Linked DNA regions of Homo sapiens: region 2 is linked to region 1. Evidence: promoter capture Hi-C in 16 types of primary human blood cells and fetal thymus (Javierre and others, 2016). All regions are on one chromosome and are shown on one strand. The core of a region is centred on a gene start or on the middle of the fragment in contact, and the rest is flanking DNA. Distances in the headings are between cores, read along the strand shown. Region 1 holds the start of LRRC70 (leucine rich repeat containing 70). Region 2 overlaps IPO11 (importin 11).

Region 1 (3,112 bases), core at 309-2,808:
TTCAGTTTTTAGAATGTGAGAAGTGAGATTTTATTTTGTCATTTTTCCTTAATACAGTTTCCTAAAAATTTTACCTTTGCATCCTAATAAGTGTTCTTTACTGCTTTGGATATTTTTGGCATAAAGAACAAAATTAATTCATACTCTGGTTATATTACTTTGTGGGTTTTTTCTCTTTAATTTTATTTTTATTTCAAAGGACCCTTTCTCTGAATTTTTCCCAAGAAATTGAAAAATCCATGGGACAAGCTTCATATCACCTTGTATATTATTGGAAGTACTAAACAAAATGGACCTGAGAAACATAGCCCCTACCTCAAATTCATATCATTTCTGTCACTTGTTTTGTTTTCCATTTTTAATGCATAAAATAGCAATAACAGTAACCAGCCATAATGGATAGGTGTAAGAATCATAAGTCATTTTGATAACGATCTGCTATCCAGTATGCATTGCTGAATTTTTAGTCATAGAAAGATAATGCTAGGTATTATTTCAGCTTTCTAATATGGACATAATTCATATTATTTCTAAAGTAATTGTTGATGTGAAATGAAACTGCTTTAATATCAAAGGAGAGTTGTATACAATTATATAACTTGATATTTTAGGAATATTATCAGGCTATTAGTAATATTAATAAAAGTCAGAATTAGAAAGCTTAAGCAACTAGCTTAAAGTTAATGAAAGAAAGTTAATGACTGAACAATATATAATATAAACAATTTATATCCGATTCTTTAAATTCTTGAAAAATGACGTTAAAAAATTCTCCATTTTTGTTCTAAAAGATTCAAACTGATACAGATATATATAGGGCGAAACATCGCCTCTTTTACTCTCCCCAATTTTTCTTGCAAAGATAACCTATGTCAGTAAGTTGGTATGCAGCTTCTTAACATCTTATAACCCAACACAACCAATTAGTGCGTTACTACTAATTAGTAGCTTACTACCAATTAGTACCTCACGTATTAAGTAGTACTCAGTATTTTTTGCAACCAAAAATATTTTGAAAATTTTAAAAAGAGCACTGGAGGATAATATAACAACATTTATGTTCATTCTAAATTTTTTCCCCTATTTTTATTAAAGGAATAAAGCATAAAGTTTAAGTCTTCAATGCGTATTTAACACAACATAAATATTTTATTCATTAAAAAGTTTACAAAAAATTGTATTACTCGATATACATCTTATTTGAACTAGCCTTTTCCATTCAGTAGCTATGTTGTTTGATAGCTAGAGTCTGTTGATTGATATTTGGGTTCTGAATAACTAATGTTTTCAAGTATCCTTTAAAAACTATTATTTTTATATTATAGGAGATATTTCAATGTGTATATTAGGAAAACTCTAACTGCATTCTGAAAAAATAAGTTCCTGAGATTTCCGTTCAGCAATACTTTTGAAACACAGATAAAATTACTTCCTGTCTCTTAGCTTCCTGTATCCATGGCAACCTCTGTTTTACACATTGACTGTAAAGGAACCAATGTGAAGAGTGGTGTTTCCTGAGCAAACGGTGACTTAAAAAAAAAAAAAAAAAAGTGGTGGGGTGGAGGTCAGCAGTGCCACAGAACAAACTGGAGTTAAGAAATGTCGTTCTTCAGATTTAAAAAGAAAACCTTTACTGAATCAGCTGAGTGTTAATAATACGAATTTCCTTTTCTTGGTAAGATTATTTACTTAAATATGAACTTCTAGCTGACATGAAAAATAGTTCTGTGAAAAACTGTAATTTAGAATTTAATTGTTCTGTAGTGAATTTGTATTTTCATAAATTATAATGTTATTTGATATTAGACTTTATGTTGTTAAAGGGACATATTAAATTCAAAGATTCTCATTCCTACATCATTTGTCACCTGTGTTGTAATCAATTGTAATTTTTAAGTTAACTTAGCAAATGTTTCATTAATCTGAACTATTTTGTCAAATAGTGGGTTAATGGCCTGATCATGTTAATAATTCTAGAACGTATTCCATACTCATTATTTTTTGCTATTACCATGGTATGATTTATGATAGTATTATTGGCTGATCCTAATTAAAATAGAATACAGAAGTTATAGTATTATAAAAAAAATTCATTTGATGAAGTTTTCGTGATTTAAAGCTTTACCTTCTCTTTTTATAGCCAATTCTGATCTGAACAGAAAATCCAAGAACAGGGATATGTGTGGATTACAGTTTTCTCTGCCTTGCCTACGACTGTTTCTGGTTGTTACCTGTTATCTTTTATTATTACTCCACAAAGAAATACTTGGATGTTCGTCTGTTTGTCAGCTCTGCACTGGGAGACAAATTAACTGCCGTAACTTAGGCCTTTCGAGTATTCCTAAGAATTTTCCTGAAAGTACAGTTTTTCTGTATCTGACTGGGAATAATATATCTTATATAAATGAAAGTGAATTAACAGGACTTCATTCTCTTGTAGCATTGTATTTGGATAATTCTAACATTCTGTATGTATATCCAAAAGCCTTTGTTCAATTGAGGCATCTATATTTTCTATTTCTAAATAATAATTTCATCAAACGCTTAGATCCTGGAATATTTAAGGGACTTTTAAATCTTCGTAATTTATATTTACAGTATAATCAGGTATCTTTTGTTCCGAGAGGAGTATTTAATGATCTAGTTTCAGTTCAGTACTTAAATCTACAAAGGAATCGCCTCACTGTCCTTGGGAGTGGTACCTTTGTTGGTATGGTTGCTCTTCGGATACTTGATTTATCAAACAATAACATTTTGAGGATATCAGAATCAGGCTTTCAACATCTTGAAAACCTTGCTTGTTTGTATTTAGGAAGTAATAATTTAACAAAAGTACCATCAAATGCCTTTGAAGTACTTAAAAGTCTTAGAAGACTTTCTTTGTCTCATAATCCTATTGAAGCAATACAGCCCTTTGCATTTAAAGGACTTGCCAATCTGGAATACCTCCTCCTGAAAAATTCAAGAATTAGGAATGTTACTAGGGATGGGTTTAGTGGAATTAATAATCTTAAACATTTGATCTTAAGTCATAATGATTTAGAGAATTTAAATTCTGACACATTCAGTTTGTTAAAGAATTTAATTTACCTTAAGTTAGATAGAAACAGAA
Region 2 (3,112 bases), core at 258-2,757, 110 kb before region 1:
GCTGGATTGCTCCGAGAACTCCTGGAAAAAATTGAAGATGTCACTGGAAGATGTTCTGCCTCAAAGTGTGAGGCAGAGATTAACTACATTCTTAATGTGAGGGTCAGGTTTTTAAATATCAGCACACTTTAGTAAAGCAACTGAGAAACCATGTGGTTTGTATGTTCCTGGCATTAAATGTGCAAAAGCCATATGCGTAGAACTGGCAGAACACGGAAGGCTTTCTCCTTTGTATATCTTCATATATTGATTTATCTGACATACTCAGTGACAGTCCATAAATCATTGTTTTAAACTGAGATTGCAACCTATTAGTGGAGATAAAAAGAATAAAAATAGAATATATAAGACTGCAATGCAGGCATTTGATGAGGTATTAATATTGTTTTAAGAAACTAGTATTTTAGGGGTGTGTCTGTGTGTGTTTAGCAGCCAGTGTAAGCTGTATGTGTTACTGTGCATTGTGGCTAAAAAAGTATGAAACATTGCCACAAATATTCTTTGACTATTTCAGATCTCTCAGAAAATGTGTGCTTAGTTGTAAAACTAAAATATATTACTTTGTAGTTCTAATGTATTACTGAAATGTATAATACACTATGAATAAATTTGTTGCCTTTTCTTTGCAGTTAGCTTCTGGAATTTATAATTTTGCCTGCTCTCTGTGGAATCACCACACAGACACATTCCTGCAAGAAGTTTCTTCTGGCAATGAAGCTGCAATTTTGAGTTCACTAGAACGAACACTGCTATCATTGAAAGGTACTATTAAGCTTGATATGTTCATTTTTGAAATGAGATACCTCAGAACAGTCACCAAATAGTTCCTTTAGACGGGTTTTCTGTTCCCAGTTTCACTGGAAAAATAAGAGGTTTATTTCTCCCTGAAAGATAAGGGCTTATTTATAGTTTTGTGGCAGTAGCTCTTCCTCTACCCCTTCTGATTTTTGAAAGCACATATAATAAGTTGAAGTGGATAGTTAGATTCACATTATTGCGGCCTCATGGCTCTGAATATATTTTTTTCAAATGCTTCTAGTTTTTGTTTCTACTTTATTTTTCTCATTCTGGACCCCTACACTTATCCTTGTCATGCCAACTTTCCTAAAATTTTTTCTCCAGGCTGGAATGAGCACTGTCTTTCATCCCTCCTTTCCCTGGAAAGGCAAGCCTCCATCTTTCATCTTAGTGCCTCAGGCTCACTTGGATTTCAGAAGGTGCTTTATAGGATGCCATCTTGGCCTGTGTCTTGGTATATGTTGCTTGCAGGCATTCCCTTAGCATAAATCTCCATCTCACTTTCCTTGAGCTGTTTATCTTGATGAATGTATTCCTAGGTTCCTTTTCTTCTAAAATATACTCATTTGTCTTATTCTCTTACTTTTCTAGTCCCTCTCTTCTTTCTGTTCTGGTTGCTAAGACTTTTTTAGTTCTTTTTGTTTGTTTGTTTTTTGTTTTTTTGGACAGACAGGGTCTTGCTCTGTCTCCCAGGTTGAAGTGCAGTGGCATAATCATAGCTCACTACAACCTTGAACTCCTGGGCTCAAGTGATCCTCTCACTGCAGCTTCCTGAGTAACTGGGACTACAGGCACATGCCACTGCACCAGGCTGATTTTTACATCTTTCTGGTCTTGAACTCCTAGCTTTAAGTGATCCTCCTGCCTTGACCTCCCAAAGTGATAGGATTACAGGGATGAGCACTGTGCCTGGCCTAGTTTGTTTTTCTTAGTTTGATCTCAGGCAGCATCAGTTTCTCTCTTACTCTCAGTTTGCATTCTTTTTAGTTTTACCTATAAGTTCTTTTATCGTACTCATTCTGGTACCTTGGAATCCCATCAGTCTTGGCATCGCCTTAATACATCACTTACTTTCACCAGACAATGGATGCACAAATCCCAAACTGTCAGCACATTTTGTGAAACCTGTGAAGAAATGTTTGAATGATTTTAAAGGACTGTTGAAAAATAAAATCCATTGTAGAAGTAGTTATAAAAGTGAGTGGAGATGGTTTTGTTAACATTCTTGAGGAAGAAATTACAGACATTGGAGAGAAATGTTTGCTCAGAAAGAATTACAGAAACTGATATAAGGCTGTGTATACAAAGCTGTGTGTATAGTAGTATATTTAATGATTAAGAAATTTTCAAGATTTCTTTTGATTATAGGGTTTTCTTACCTTATTGATTTCAAAGCCTAACTCCTGACGAAAAAGATGTAGCTTTACTATATCTTTGCCTGCCTTAAGCTTTTTAATACCTCACCATCTGAAGGTCTTAGATTCACATTAACTTTTTAGAGATATCCTGCCCTGGAAAATTTTGTTCTGTAACTATACATTTCTGTTCTGAAATGAAGAAATACTCCAAACTACAATTTTTGTTTTGTGTAATCTCTATCTGAATTTACACTTACGTGCATTTAGTATCTTTTAGACATGGATGCATTCATTATTTCATTCGACAAATCTATAGATCCTTGGCACTGGGGAGACAGACTTAATAAAATGATCCCACAAATATATTTAAAGTGACACCTGTGACAGAGGCTTTATGATATTATGATAACTGATAATATGATCAGAAAAATTTCCCTGAGAAAGTGATCTTTGAGCTGTAATCTTAAAGGATAAGTGGAAGTTAACTAGGTGATGAAGGGAGAAGGAAAGGATCCTCTCAGGTATTGTGGCTCAAGGTCTTGTGGTGAGAAAGCATATCCAGAATAAGGGATTCAATTTGAATTCTGTTTTCTCCTTACGAAAACGAGGAAAACTTACTGCATCGTTATGATGCAGCAACTTCTGAGTTGCATATGATGATTTCAAACTGAAGGTCTTATAGACAGCTACATTCTAAACTTAATTTTAATACATTGCTTTAGACTTACAAACCGAAGGTCTAGTAGACAGCTACATTCTAAACCTAAATTTAATCCATTGCCTTTAGACCTCATAAACACTATTTAAGGTATAATTCTTTAGTACTGTAATAGCAATCCTTATTTAATGAACTTTTAATTTTGTCTCTTACACTGTCACCATCCTTATTGTTGCTAAATAATTGCTATATTTTACATATACCATGGAATCCATCAATAACCCTATAAAGTAGGATT

What was found. The method cuts DNA at HindIII sites, captures the fragments that hold promoters and counts their contacts. A CHiCAGO score of 5 or more calls a contact.
Region 2: a contact is called between a fragment that was not itself captured here and the fragment with the promoter of LRRC70 in region 1, in 2 of 17 cell types (endothelial precursors and erythroblasts). The highest score is 7.7, in endothelial precursors.

Annotation. Positions count from the first base shown.
Region 1 is chr5:62,577,261-62,580,372 of GRCh38, forward strand. LRRC70 (leucine rich repeat containing 70) reads left to right here and starts at 1,559. Exons shown (of 2, transcript NM_181506.5): 1 at 1,559-1,675; 2 at 2,141-3,112. The coding sequence starts at 2,179. The region is part of intron 27 of IPO11 (importin 11); the gene reads left to right. IPO11-LRRC70 (IPO11-LRRC70 readthrough) reads left to right here and starts at 1,475. Exons shown (of 4, transcript NR_073584.1): 1 at 1,475-1,675. The HindIII fragment of the contact is 1,459 bases long and covers 659-2,117 here.
Region 2 is chr5:62,466,502-62,469,613 of GRCh38, forward strand. It overlaps IPO11 (importin 11), which reads left to right. Exons shown (of 30, transcript NM_016338.5): 6 at 630-762. Among named protein-coding and RNA genes, the nearest start is that of IPO11, 55 kb to the left of the region's middle. The HindIII fragment of the contact is 1,473 bases long and covers 772-2,244 here.